Regions from separate parts of the Homo sapiens genome. Here region 1 is linked to region 2. Evidence: promoter capture Hi-C in human tissues and cell types (Jung and others, 2019). All regions are on one chromosome and are shown on one strand. The core of a region is centred on a gene start or on the middle of the fragment in contact, and the rest is flanking DNA. Distances in the headings are between cores, read along the strand shown. Region 1 has its middle 12 kb from the start of OAF. Region 2 holds the start of POU2F3 (POU class 2 homeobox 3).

Region 1 (2,700 bases), core at 173-2,672, 41 kb before region 2:
GTTTGCTAGTTGAATCCAGATGTGGAGGGTGGGAGGGGGAATTGGGAGGGCACGCTGGAGGCAGGCCTGGGGAGGGGATGGGGGAGGGGAGGGAATTGGGCAAACAGAACTCCCCGCAGGAATGCCACAGATACCCTGAATCCTGCCTGGATTTCAGTGCCCTCTCACTGGGGTCTCAACGCGTCAGCCCAAATCAGCCTCCATTGTCTCTAGTTAAGAAATACGAGGCTTGGCTGGATGTGGTGGCTCATGCCTATAATTTCAACGTTTTGGGAGACCAGGGTGGGAAGATCACTGCACCCAGAATTTTGAGGTGAGGTTACAGTGAGCAATGATCATGCCCCTGCACTCCAGCCTGGGAAACAGAGCAAGACCCTGTCTCTAAAATAAATAAATAAGAGGCAGTATTGCCAATGGCCCCAGCACATATGAAAAATAGCTACCATTTATACAACAGTTATTAGATGCCTCTTCCTGTGCAGCCGAGGCCTCTGGCCACGTGGTCTTTTCTCTCTGCCCGGCTGCTCTGCTACAGGTCCAACCGAAGCAGAATGTCTGGCCTTGACCAGGAGACAGAGCAGTAGGGTGGGCAGCCCAGGGCGTTGAATATAGTACTTTTCTAAAGTCCCACAACAACCCAACAAGATGGGAATCATTACAGCCATTTTACTGACAAAAAACTGAAGCTTTACATCTTAGAGGTTTAAGTCCAAGGCCACACAGCTAGAATGTGACAGAGCCACAATTCAGACTTGGGACTGATTCCACAGTCCTCACTACGTGACCCATTTGCCCATCTGTAAGCAAGACAGAAGTTGGGAAAGGCTGACTGATAACCATGAAATGACCAGAGGCCCACCAGTTCCTAGAAATCTGAAGTTTGCTCAAAGCTGCCCCACAGTCATGCTGGAGACAGGTTCCAGGGGGCAAGATCCTGACCATGTGTTTATAATGTCCCTGCCAGCTGCACACACGCCCTGCCCACCTCCATCCCCTCCTCAGAGGTAAGAGGAGTCCACAGCAGAGAAGGAGGCCAGCACTGTCTAGGAGGACACAGGGTGTAGGTTCTCCCCAAGGCTGCTGACCCTGGAGAAGGGAAGGGTCTGTCCCTGCCCCGCCCTGCCCTGCCCCATCTCCCCATTGCCTCATCCTCTCTGGGAACGGGAAGTCCATGACCAGGTCCAAAGGCACAGTGGGAAGAAGGAGTCCGGGGCTGCAGGCTTGCGGTTGTCTCCCGCTGCCAGCAACTCTGCGGGCCCAATGGAGAAGAAAATGCCCAGGCCTGGGCATGAAGCCAAGACAAGGGGGACCCTGGGCTGTGTGGCCATAGAAGGCTCTAGAGAGCGGGAGCAGGAGCTCAGACTTTGGAGCCAGATGGCCTGGGTGTGCCCCTAGTTCTGCCACACTAGCTGTGTGACCTTGCTCCAAACCCCAGGCCTCACTTTCCTCCTCTGTGAAAGGAGGGAAATAGTAATCCTAGCTGCTGGAGCACAAGTGGGTATTAAGTGGGGTGCTGGATGTAAAGCACGCGGGTTGATCAAGAAACACCAGCTACTGCTGTTCCAGGTTCCAGTTCCCAAGCCACTATCATTCCAGGTCTCAGCCTCCCGATGCTTACTACAGGTAGAAAGATCCTTTTGGTTGAAACCAGTCACTTCCTGCAGGTCTCCGCAAACCTCTCATTCTAGGGACCCAAGGGACCATAGAAGTGTTAATTAGCCAAGCCTTAAGACAGGCCTAGGCAGAGGGAGCCTCGTTAACATTAATTGGTACTCTCAGATCTTCGCCCAGTCAGGATGGAGCAGCGCATGCTGGGACAGCCTCTCTGCTCTTGGGGTTCACAATCTGCCCAAGACTGTGCCCCCAGCACAGCTGCAGTAGAGGGGACAGCCAGCGACCCCTCCGCTCCCTCCCCCCTCACAGGGCCCAGCATTCAAGAGAGGCAGGGGGAGCCAGGGCAGAGGGAGGGAGGGAACTAACCTCTCCTGCAGAAGGGTCAGAACCGTGATCTTGGTCCAACCAACAGTCTTGGAGGCAACCATGATGCGGGCACTTTGCTGCATACCAATGCCAAAGGCTGTGCCTGGGAGGAGATGCCAGTCTCTATCAATGGCTGTCAACCTAATTTAATGAGCCGAAGGAGCCTGTTTAAAATGCAGAGTCCCAGGCAATGCCCTCCATGGTTGAGGTCCAGGAACCTGTATTTTTAACAAGCACGCTTTAAAGCAGGACCACACTTTAAAGAACTGATGTTTGTATAGCCAGTATGACTTAGTGTAAAGCAAGGCACACAGTAGGTATATAATAAATGCTGATTGATGAAATGAATGAGTGAGTGAGCAGAGCATGAAGAGACCATGAATGATTCTACAAAATATGAGCAGAAGATCTGCCTTTCCCCAGGAATTCTCCCCTAGGTAAGAGGTGGGCTCTTCATCTCTGTTTCACTTCTTTTTGTGGTTGGGACCAGACTTTTTCTACTGAACTTGTACACTGCTATCTCAATTCTAAGAGAATTTTAGTCCACACAGAAGAAACCCCACATAATCCCTCTCCCACCTCAAATCTACCCACAGAGGTTAGGAATCCCTGAGAATTCTATTTCCAGAAAAATGCAAATATATACACAAGGTTTTTTTATATTGTAATTTCCAAGAGTTCTGGACCCTGAAGCAAATTCATGGTTAAGGATCCCTGCTG
Region 2 (2,721 bases), core at 59-2,558:
AAAAAAAAAAAAAAAAAAAAAAAAGAACACGGAACTTAAACTCTCTAAGCCTCATTTTCCCCATCTATAAAATGGCAATAATCATAGTACAATGTACAGGTTTTGAGGACTAAACAAGAACTAAAGGCACGAAAGATGCCTTTCAAGTGTTGGTCACCCCAGTGCTTGATACACAGTGAAGGCACACGAAATGCTGGGTGTTATCGTGGGCATGACTGGAGTGCACGGTGGGATGGGCGTGCCAGGGGGAAAGGACACTGTAAACAAGGTGTAGAGGCAGGAAAGCCCAAAACCTGTTCTGTGCTCAGAAAGTAGCCCATGGGACTAAGGAGAAGACATGTTCATGAGGAGTCCTGTCTGGGAAGGAAAGCGAGGCCCTGCCCTCCTGTCTGCACACAGCTTTCTGGGCTTCCATGCAGGCCATCCTGTGGTGACAGACCACTTACTGGGACTTGAAGAGACGAAGAGAAAGGGGTGAGCCTATGATGGGTGCTGCAAAGAGCACTGGAGTGGGAGTCCAGAGACCTGATTCCAGCCAGGCTCTGTCACTAGGGAAGTGTGCACCTTTGAGCAAGCCGCTTCCCCGCTCTGGAAGGTGGCTGTCACCAAAAGCCTGGGCACTGGTAACTTCCACATCCATCATCTCGTAGAGCCTCACAGCAACCTGGGACCTGGGGCGGGAGACTGGAGGGGCAAGCAGGAAGCAGTTGTGTGCACCTGGAAACTCTGCTAATAATAAACTGCACCCCGTCTAAATCCCACAATGCTGTGAGGATGCCATGGGGGCTAGGTGAGCTTGGTCACCTGCTCAGCCCAATAGGGAACCCGATTAGCACCTGTCCTGTTTTACAGGTGAGTTAAATGAGCTCAGGGAGGTGAAGAACCTTGTCCCAGCCACACTGCTGGTAAGCGGTTGGGAGGCGAGATTCCAAAACTGAATTCTTTCCAGCAGACCCCCGCGACTTCTCCAAACACTCCAACTCCTTGCAGCGCTTACACTTCGCGATCTGTCCAGAAGGAAGCTCGGGCTCAGGCTGGAGAACCCGCCAGGGCTTCCTAAAAAGGGCGAGCAGGACCAGGAGTTGGCGCCACTCCGGGCGCGGTGAGGAGGTGCTGCCAGGCTGGGTTGGAGCAGGCAGGTGTTCCGCGGGATCGAGACCCGCCCCGGCAGCACCCCCGGCCCCCTCCCCAGGTCCCCAGCTCCATGTATGCAAATCACTGCTTTGCATGGGCCTGGGGCCAGGCGCGGGGCTCCTGCCAGGGGGCGTGGCCGGCGGCCCCCGCCCCGCGCCGCGTGCTCACCTGGGGAGTGTGGCAATCCTGGCGGCGCCGAGTGTTGCCCGGGCCGGAGCAGCGGAGCGCGCGACAGTGGCGGCGACGGCTCCGGCAGCGGCTCCCGCGGCGGCGGCGGCCGGGAACTGGAGGAAGGAGACCCTGGCTTCGCAGGGGCCCCGGCTGGGGCAGAGGCGAGGGGCCTGGGGGGGCGCTGGCTTTGGCCCCGCCTGGGGCAGGATGGTGAATCTGGAGTCCATGCACACAGGTGAGGGGCGGAGGGAATGAGCTCTGACAGGTGTCACTGCGCGTGGGCAGGGGTGAAGGAGAGGGACAACGTTCTGGTTAGGGAGGGGGGCTTGTTTCCCAGCGGCCAGGAGAGGGCGGTGTGGATAGCGGGTTGTCCTGGGGTGGGTGCCGGTCAGTATTTGGGGACTAAAGGGAGGGGATCTGGGATAAGAAACCCTGGAAAAGAATGAGGGTGGGGGCTGGTGAAGGGCGGGAGGGCTTCGAAGCCCCCGGTCTGGGGAGTGGCAGTTGTATGGGACGTGGGTGTACTGAACTGTCATAGTCTCAGGAGGTTGCAGGGATGGGTGGTTCACTCACTCAGCCAGGGGTGTGGACCTGGGAGTGCATAAGTGAGGGAAATGTGTATGTCCACATGCTGTGTGCTGGTGTCCGGGCATATGTGTGAAATGGAGGCAAAGCGGACATTTAGGTGGTTGGGGGGCTTAGGAGAAGTGGCTGAGGTGGGGCAATTACAGAGGTGCCCCTGGGGCAGGGGCCATGCCCCCATGTGTTTGAGAAGGGATGGTGACAGACACATCCTCTGGGTTCCATGTCCCATGCCTTCCTTCCCTAAGGGGTGGAAACCTAGGAGATGCAAATGCTTTGCCGGGAGTCAGGCTTCCCTGAATGAATGAATGAGAGGTGGGCATGGAGGGAACCCAGCCCCTCCATTCACCTTGCTGTTCCTCCTTCCACAGCTGGGCTAAGGCAGGAGCTGCCAGGCAGCCAGGTTGGGCTTGGCTTGGGGCTTCCTGTTAGGGTGGGCCTTCTGGAGGTCACAGGGCCTGAGCAAAGAACAAGTGAAGAAAGCGGTACCTGACCTGGCCATTTCTAACCTAGCAACTTACTCTCAAAGTGGGCAGGACCCAGTGATCTTTCTTTAGGATTTCGGGGCTGTTGATGGGAATGTTGTTACCTGGTCTCCTTTCTGGGAGAGTAGGGAGGAGGCAATGCTCCAGACCCACCCCAAGAAGCAGAGCAGGCCTGAGGCCTACCCAGCCTGAAAACAAGCGTCAGTGAGTGCCCGGAGGGAGGGGACCTGGAGTGCCCAGTTCCCCAGATGCTGTTTCCTGGCAGGGCTGAGTGAGAGGCAGACTGGCAGTGAGATGTTGGCACTGAGTGGCTCTCCAGGACGTGCCAGAAAGGCTAGGTGAGGCGGAA

What was found. Contacts are between HindIII fragments. The study calls those that stand out against the background at their distance.
Region 1: a fragment that was not itself captured here is called in contact with the fragment with the promoter of POU2F3 in region 2 in 1 of the 25 tissues and cell types used here (liver).

What each region holds. Positions count from the first base shown.
Region 1 is chr11:120,198,099-120,200,798 of GRCh38, forward strand. No RefSeq gene overlaps it. Among named protein-coding and RNA genes, the nearest start is that of OAF, 12 kb to the right of the region's middle. The HindIII fragment of the contact is 8,075 bases long and covers 1-2,700 here.
Region 2 is chr11:120,238,832-120,241,552 of GRCh38, forward strand. POU2F3 (POU class 2 homeobox 3) reads left to right here and starts at 1,309. Exons shown (of 13, transcript NM_014352.4): 1 at 1,309-1,540. The coding sequence starts at 1,513. The HindIII fragment of the contact is 19,243 bases long and covers 1-2,721 here.